Linked DNA regions of Homo sapiens: region 2 is linked to region 1. The links are contacts of gene promoters, found by promoter capture Hi-C in blood cells and fetal thymus (Javierre and others, 2016). All regions are on one chromosome and are shown on one strand. The core of a region is centred on a gene start or on the middle of the fragment in contact, and the rest is flanking DNA. Distances in the headings are between cores, read along the strand shown. Region 1 holds the start of ANKFY1 (ankyrin repeat and FYVE domain containing 1). Region 2 has its middle 10 kb from the start of UBE2G1.

Region 1 (4,069 bases), core at 679-3,178:
CTCAGATTCTTCTTTTTAAATTTCTTTTCTTTTTCTTATTTAATTTTAGAGACAGAGTCTTGCTCTGTCACCCAGGCTGCAGTGCAGCGGCAGGATAGAGCTCACTGCAGTCCCAAACTCCTGGACTCAAGCAATTCTCCAGCCTCAGCCTCAGCCTCCCAAGTAGCGACAACTAAAAGCCTGCACCACCAGGTATAGCTAATTCAGATCCTTCCTTCCAACCTTTTGTCTCTTACTCCTGGCTGTCCTCCAAGGCCACCACTTTCCCTGCAATCCTGAACTATTGATGCATTCTTTTGATTCTCCCTTGAGTAAAAGTCTTTTTTGAAAGGTCTCATGCTGGGCCGGGCATGGTGGCTCATGCTTGTAATTTCAGTACTTTGCGAGGTTGGGGTGGGAGGACTGCTTGAGACTAGGAGTTCAAGACCAACCTGGCCAACAGAGACTCCATCTCTGAAAAAAAAAAAAAACAAAAAACAAGAAAGGTCTCATGCTATTCAGCTATGTTACTGTTTAGCCCTCCATTTTGCAATTGTCTTAACTAATCGTATAGTCCTCCCCACATTCACCAAAGATTTTAGCTCCTGATGCTCCTTTCCTTTCCTACCTCTAAATCCCAACATCTAATTTTCCTGCCTTCTCACTTCCACTTCAGCCACTCTATTCCGTGGCTCTGTCCTGGACTTTTTTTTTTTTTTTTTGAGACAGAGTCTCACTCTGTTGCCCAGGCTGGAGTGCAGTGGCACAATCTTGGCTCACTGCAACCTCTGCCTCCCGGGTTCAAGCGATTCTACTGCCCCAGCCTCCCGAGTAGCTGGGATTACAGGCATGCACCACCACGCCCGGCTAATTTCTGTATTTTTAGTAGAGACGGGGTTTCACCATGTTGGCCAGGCTGGTCTTGAGCTCTAGACTTCAGGTGATTCACCCTCCTCGGCCTCCCAAAGTGCTGGGATTACAGGCGTGAGCCACCACGCCCGGCCTGTCCTGGACTTTTCTCATCTCCTAGTGCTACTTCACTATGAACCTGTTTGCCACTTTAACCACCAAGCTCTCACAACATTGCCTGCACTGCACTGGCCTTCAATTATCAGAGACCTGCAGTTTCGTGGCTCCTCCATCAGTCCCTAGCCAGTCTGTATCCCACGTTTGATGGCCTGGGCTGTCGTCTCATAGCACCCTCAATTTATTTTGGGCAATGCAATCCCAAGCCCTGGATAAATGCTATAATTCAAAATATCTGCTACTGCAGCCTGGTGGCTGAGTTCTAGAAAAAAGTGATCCATCAACACATACATGAGGCACATGAAACCAGGCCTTCCAACTTCAGCGTCCTCTTCCAAAGTTTCTTTGCTCTTCTTGGTCTCCTTCCTTGTCTCATAACTTCACCCATAAAATCGATGTCATCAAACGATCTCCCTGATTTTCTTCCCCCCTATATATCTGCACGCATGTTCTTGTTTCCTACCGTTTTAGTGGAATAACAGGTGACCTGCCTCTAGTCTAAATTTAATCCGTTTTCCTGAGTTCTGCATCGCATGCAGAGCATCCTACCTCCCCAGGGACCTCTCCACTGACTCCTTTCTCCCAGCCTCTCCTTTCTTTACAAACCTAAGGACCAACAAACCCCCTCTCTCGACCCTCTCATTGCCAAGCTTCTCCAGAGTAGTCTGCATTCGTTGTGTCATCCTTTTCGGTGCCCTGCCAAGGACGTGGAATATGACAGGGCTCAGTCAGTGCTTAATAAATCTCGAGCCTCAAAAATACCCGGTAAAAAGAAACCCGGCTCTCCGCTTCCCCCAGAGTCCAGCAACCCCCTCCGCTTTCATTCACCCACTTTCCTACCCTCGGCTCCGCCTTTTGCCGCGCCTCCCGCGATTCTCGCGAGACTTGGTGATTCCGTTCCGCACCGCCCCGGTTGAGCCGCGCACTTCTCGCGAGGTTGCAGGCAGTGCCGGGCCAGACATGGCGGAAGGTAGGGTTTTTTTGTGGAGCCGCGCGGGAAGACACGGAGCTGTGGGGGCGCTGCTGGCCGTGCGAAGCTGCCGTGGGAGGGGAAGGCCGGGCGTGGTTGCATGGGGGCTCCGCGGGTCTCGCGAGCCTTCCTGTCTAGCCTCTCCGGAGCTTCTCGGGCCGGGGTCCGGAGCGCGGTTCCTATGACAACGTCCCTCCCGCGATGCCGACCCCGCGGGACTGCGGCCGGCTGCGGAGCCGGGCTGGCAGGTCCCGCGCCGGTGCTGCGTGCAGCCGCGGGGCCCCGAGGGCAGCACGGGAGGCTCTTGATTGCCGGCGGTGCCGGGACGCCGGGGGAAGTAAGCCTTCTCCTTAGGAAATCGAAACTGCTGTCCTGGCACGTTCTGCATCCGGAAGGGGTCCATCCCTCGCTTGCGGAAGAGCGTGGGTCTCCTCGGGCTGGGTTGGGGTGAGGTGGGGTGGGGTGGGGGCGAGGCAGCAGCGAGCTGGCCCACGCTTCAGGCGGGCGCACTGGCGGCTCCGGCTCTGCTGCAACCCCAGCCTTCAGGCCAGGCGTACAGATGAAGACGGGAGGAAGGGGTTTGCGGGAAGGGAGTTGGCCAAGGTCACACTGCTCACAAGAGGGCTGCTCAAACCAGACCTCTGTGCCTTTGCCTCCCCGTCCAGTGCCTACCCTCTGGTCTCGTGCACTTTTCATGACATTGCAGCTTAAGGCACTCTGGTCTCTCAGAGTCTGCCTGTCTTAATGTAGCAGTAATTAGAAGCCTTCATTGTCAAAGCCTTATTGTACACGTAGGGGGAAAGAAGGCCCAGAGACGGGGAGTTACCTGTCAGGAATCGTGCAGGGACATTGTTGGATCTGGGCAGCCTGGTTCTCCTCTTCACCCCATTATTGGAGAACAGTATTCCTTATTTGACCTTTGTTTATTGAGTGACTGCAGTGTGCTTGGCCACGACCTTTCCTGTTGGTTTTGAGCTTTGACTGAACCCATCACTTGATGGATCTTAGATTTGGGCAGCACCTGACAGTTGGTCGGCTTTTCTCATTTGCATTAGACTTCAGATAACCTCGTGAAGGAGGCCTGGCGTGTGTATTTGCCTTTATTGATAAAGGAATTTAGGCAAAGTTACAGAGATAGCTGTGACTGACACCCAGTTGGTTTTGGGGGGTGTGTGTGTGTGTTTTGAGATAGGGTCTCGCTCTGTCCCACCGGCTGGAGTACAGTGGCGCGGTCACGGCTCACTGTAGCTTCAGTCTCCTGGGCTCAAGCGATCCTTCTGCCTCAGCCTCCTGAGTAGCTGGGACCAGGGGCGCTCGCCACCACACCCGGCTAATTAAAAAGGGGTGTGTGTGTGTGTAGACAAGGTCTTGGCCCCGTGTGGTGGCTCGCGCTAGTAATTTCAGCACTTTGGGAGGCCGAGGTGGGAGGATCGCTTGAGGCCAGGAGTTCAAGAGCAGCCTGGGCAACATGGCGAAACCTCGTATCTACAAAAAATACGAAAGTTAGCCAGGTGTGGTGGCACGTGTCTGTAATTCCAGGTACTCGGGAGGATGAGGCACAAGAATCGCTTGAACCCGGAAAACGGAGGTTACAGTGAGCTGAGATCGTGCTACTGCACTCCAGCCTGGAGTGAATGGAGTGATGGCGGGTGCCTGTGGTCCTCGCAGTAATACTAGGGAGGTGGGAGGATCATTTGAATCCGGGAGGCGGAGGTTGCAGTGAACTGCACCAGCCTGGGCGACAGAGTAAGATCCTGTCTTAAAAAAGAGAGAGACTAGGTCACACTATGTCACCCAGGCTGGTCTCCCAACTCTTGGGCTCAAGCAATCCATCCGCTTTGGCCTCTCTAAGTGCTGGGGTTGCAGGTATGAGCCATCGCGCCCGGCAGGCACCCAGTTTTTGTCTTTACTTTTTCTACCATATCCCTGGAGGGGGAAACTTTAGGTGAATATTGCCTGAAGGCAGAGGAGTAAGAAAAGGAGCAAAAACCCAAGGGATTCCCTGAAGTTGCTTTTTGAGTAAATCACGGAATGTTGTACACAGCAGACAGCTGTTGCTCACAGGAGTGAGGCGGGTAGAAAGGTTCAGGAAGG
Region 2 (4,069 bases), core at 432-2,931, 110 kb before region 1:
GAAAAGAAAAATAATCAACTGCAATCCTGCATGACAAATGCTAGGATAAGAGATGTAATACAAGCTGGAAGTAGGAAACAGGGAAGATAAGATTAGTTTAGAGATTGCCAGAGGTATTCTGGAGGAAGTTGCTTCTTTCAAGGATCTGAAAGATGGATTTGTAGGTATTAACCACATACATCTAGCAGAAATGAGTGCTATTTGCTTGTTTATTTGTTTGTTTTTGAGACGGAGTCTCGCTCTGTTGCCAGGCTGGAGTGCAATGGCGCGATCTCAGCTCACTGCAACCTCCGCCTCCTGGGTTCAAGCGATTCTCCTGCCTCAGCCTCCCGAGTAGCAGGCGTGCACCACCACGCCTGGCTAATTTTTGTATTTTTAGTAGAGACGGGGTTTCACTATGTTGGCCAGTATGGTCTCCAACTCTTGACCTCATGATCCCCCGCCCCCGTCTCGTCCTCCCAAAGTGCTGGGATTATAGGCGTGAGCCAGCACGCCTGGCCCAGAAAAGAGTGTTTTAAGCTATTGTAACACCAAATGGAAAGACCTTTTGGAGGAAGGAAAGAAGTGTAGTGTGTCAGAAGTAGAGTGTGTCAGGATGAGGCTAGAGCATCCCTAGAGACTAGATTGTGAAGGGCAGACATTTAAGCCAAAATGGGGTCAGGCGCGGTGCCTCACACCTATAATCCCAGCACTGTGGGAGGCCGAGGCAGGCGATCACTCGAGGTCAGGAATTCGAGACCAGCCTGGCTAACACGGTGAAACCCTGTCTCTACTAAAAATACAAAAAATTAGCCGGCCGTGGTGGCGGGCGCCTGTAGCCCCAGCTACTCAGGAGGCTGAGGCAGGAGAATCACTAGAACCTGGGAGGCGGAGGTTGCAGTGAGCCGAGATCCTGCCATTGCACTCCAGCCTGAGCAACTAAGTGAGACTCCTTCTCAAAAAAAAAAAAAAAGAAAGAAAGAAAGAAAAAAGAAACACGGTTTCAACCGGGTATGGTATGGTGGCTCACACCTATAATCCCAGCACTTTGGGAGGCCAAGGTGGGTGGATCACAAGGTCAGGAGTTTGAGACCAGCCTGGCCAACATGGCGAAACTCCATCTCTACTAACAATATAAAAATTAGCCAGGCGTGGTGGCACATGCCTGTAGTTCCAGCTACTTGGGAGGCTGAGGCAGGAGAATAGCTTGAACCCGGGAGGCAGAGGTTCTGGTGAGCCGAGATCAGGCCACTGCACCACTGCACTCCAGCCTGGGCAATAGAGGAAGACTATGTCTCAAAAAAAAAAAAAAAAAAAATGATGGTCAGGATGGGTGGCTGGAAACCGAGAATTTGGGGTGTGGTGTGGTTTTGGGTGACAAGACTGTCTCATGTGAACATAGGCCAGCTGGTGGGAAGGGGAGGAGAAGAAGTCAAGTGGTGACAGGCAGGGGTACTGGATGGGTCATCCACGTGGGTAATTAGGTCCCCAAGGAGAAGGGCTGGAGTAGAAGGAAGAGAAGGGCTGTGAGGCAGGAACCAAAGTTCGTGATGAGCGGGTCTGCCGGTCACAGCACCAAAGGGGAGTAACAAGTGCTGCAGCTGGATGGCATTAACCTCAAACGAGCTAGGGGCTGGCCGGGCGTGGTAGGTCACACCTGTAATCCCCAAAATTTGGGAGGCCAAGAATGGGCAGATCACTTGAGGCCAGAAGTTCGACCAGCCTGGCCAACGTGGTGAAACCCCGTCTCTACTGAAAATACAAACATTAGCCATGCGTCGTGGTGGGCATCTGTAATCCCAGCTACTCGGGAGGCTGAGGCAGGAGAATCGGTTGAACCCAGGAGGCAGACAGTGAGCCAAGATCACGGCACTGCACCACTCCAGCCTCAGTGACAGAGTGAGACTCAGTCTCAAAAAAAAAAAAAAAAAAAGGTCCGGGCATGGTGGCTCACGCCTGTAATCCCAGCACTTTGGGAGGCCGAGGCGTGCGGATCACCTGGGGTCAGGTGTTCGAGACCAGCCTGGCCAACCTGGTGAAACCCCCATCTCTACTAAAAATACAAAAATTAGCTGGGCATGGTGGTGTGTGCCTGTAATCCCAGGTACTCGGGAGGCTGAGGCAGGAGACTCGCTGGAACCCGGGAGGCAGAGGCTGCAGTGAGCAGAGATCATGCCACGGTACTCCAGCCTGGGTGACAGAGCAAGACTCCGTCTCAAAAAAATAAATACATAAAAATAAAGGCTGGGCGCAGTGGCTCACGCCTGTAATCCCAGCACTTTGGGAGGCCGAGGCAGGCAGATTACCTGAGGTCAGGAGTTTGAGAGCAGCCTGGGCAACGTGGTGAAACCCCAACTTTATTAAAATACGAAAATTAGCTGGGCGTGGTGGCACACATCTGTAATCCCAGCTATTTGGGAGGCTGAGGCAGGAGAATCCCTTGAACTCAGGAGGCGGAGGTTGCAGTGAGCCGAGATCGTGCCACTACACTCCAGCCTGGGCGACAGAGCAAGACTCCATCTCAAAAAACAGAAACAAACAAACAAAAAAGCAAGGGCCCAGGTGCAGTGGCTCACAAGTGTAAACCCAACACTCTGGGAGGCTGAGAGGGAAAAGGTGGCTTGAGGCCAGGAGTTTGAGAACCTGTTTCTTTTTTATTTTATTTTTTTTGAGACAGAGTCTCACTCTGTTGCCCAGGCTGGTGCAATTTCAGCTCACTGCAACCTCTGCCTCCCGGTTTCAAGTGATTCTCCTGCCTCAGCCTCCTGAGTAGCTGGAACTACAGGTGTGCCACCATGCCAGGCTAATGTTTGTATTTTCAGTAGAGACGGGGTTTCACCACGTTGGCCAGGCTGGTCGAACTTCTGGCCTCAAGCGATCTGCCCATTCTTGGCCTCCCAAATTTTGGGGATTACAGGTGTGACCTACCACGCCCGGCCAGCCCCTAGCTCGTTTGAGGTTAATGCCATCCAGCTGCAGCACTTGTTACTCCCCTTTGGTGCTGTGACCGGCAGACCCCCTCATCACGAACTTTGGTTCCTGCCTCACAGCCCTTCTCTTCCTTCTACTCCAGCCCTTCTCCTTGGGGACCTAATTACCCACGTGGATGACCCATCCAGTACCCCTGCCTGTCACCACTTGACTTCCTCTTCTCCCCTTCCCACCAGCTGGCCTATGTTCACATGAGACAGTCTTGTCACCCAAAACTGCACCACCCCCTGATTCTCAGTTTCCAGCCACCCACCCTGACCACCATTTCTTATCCTTCCAGCTTACTTGATTTAGTGTTCACACCATGCAACTCTTCCACCTCAACAGGACCCCGTTCTGTGTACCATTTTTCACTATCCGTCATTTCCCTTCTGTTTTGTCTTCCTTCTCTTCCAAGCTTAGAGAATAGTCCATTACTACAACCCTTCTCTGCATACACCCTCAACCAACTCAGCTGTTTGTCTCCCTCTCTCTCCGTTTTACTTGCCTGGCTGATCCTCAAGCCTGAATGAACCCAACTACAAGTCATAACTGCACCTGAGCAACTGAACATTACTGGAAAAAAAAATAAGAAAAACCTCAACTGGACCTACAGGTTGCACTTTCAGTTCATGACCACAAACCTCAAATAAACTCCCAGCATTGAAACCTCCACCTCCTTGCCCTCTACTCAACCTTCAGCCCACGCTGCTCTGACAGCCCTCAACACTGCTCCATCAACATCCTCCATCAGGGTCAGCAGCAACTTCCCGGTTTCAGAATTCAAAGCACACCTCTCAGCCTTCGTCTTTCTCTACTTCTCAGCAGCATGGAGTTGTTGATCATTCCTTCTTTCTGGGAACATTTTCTCATCTTGGCTTTTGCGAAACCACACCAAGTTTCTCTCCTCTTTTGTCTTTTCTTTCTCAGCCTCCATTGCTGGCTCCTTCTCCATCTGACCTCTAAATCTTGGGGTGCTTCAGGGCTCATTTTTAGGCCTTTTTATTGTTATTTTTTATTTTATTTTTATTTATTTCTTTATTTTTTGGAGACATAGTCTCACTCTGTTGCCCAGGCTTGAGTGCAATGGCGCGATCTCAGCTCACTGCAACCTCCGCCT

Evidence for each region. The method cuts DNA at HindIII sites, captures the fragments that hold promoters and counts their contacts. A CHiCAGO score of 5 or more calls a contact.
Region 2: a contact is called between a fragment that was not itself captured here and the fragment with the promoter of ANKFY1 in region 1, in 2 of 17 cell types (endothelial precursors and total CD8 T cells). The highest score is 5.5, in endothelial precursors.

Annotation. Positions count from the first base shown.
Region 1 is chr17:4,261,838-4,265,906 of GRCh38, reverse strand. It overlaps ANKFY1 (ankyrin repeat and FYVE domain containing 1), which reads left to right and starts at 1,928. Exons shown (of 25, transcript NM_001330063.2): 1 at 1,928-1,975. The coding sequence starts at 1,966. RefSeq lists an enhancer at 1,742-1,831 and a silencer at 2,482-2,631. The HindIII fragment of the contact is 3,100 bases long and covers 1,658-4,069 here.
Region 2 is chr17:4,374,747-4,378,815 of GRCh38, reverse strand. No RefSeq gene overlaps it. Among named protein-coding and RNA genes, the nearest start is that of UBE2G1, 10 kb to the right of the region's middle. RefSeq lists an enhancer at 3,441-3,490. The HindIII fragment of the contact is 3,377 bases long and covers 1-3,369 here.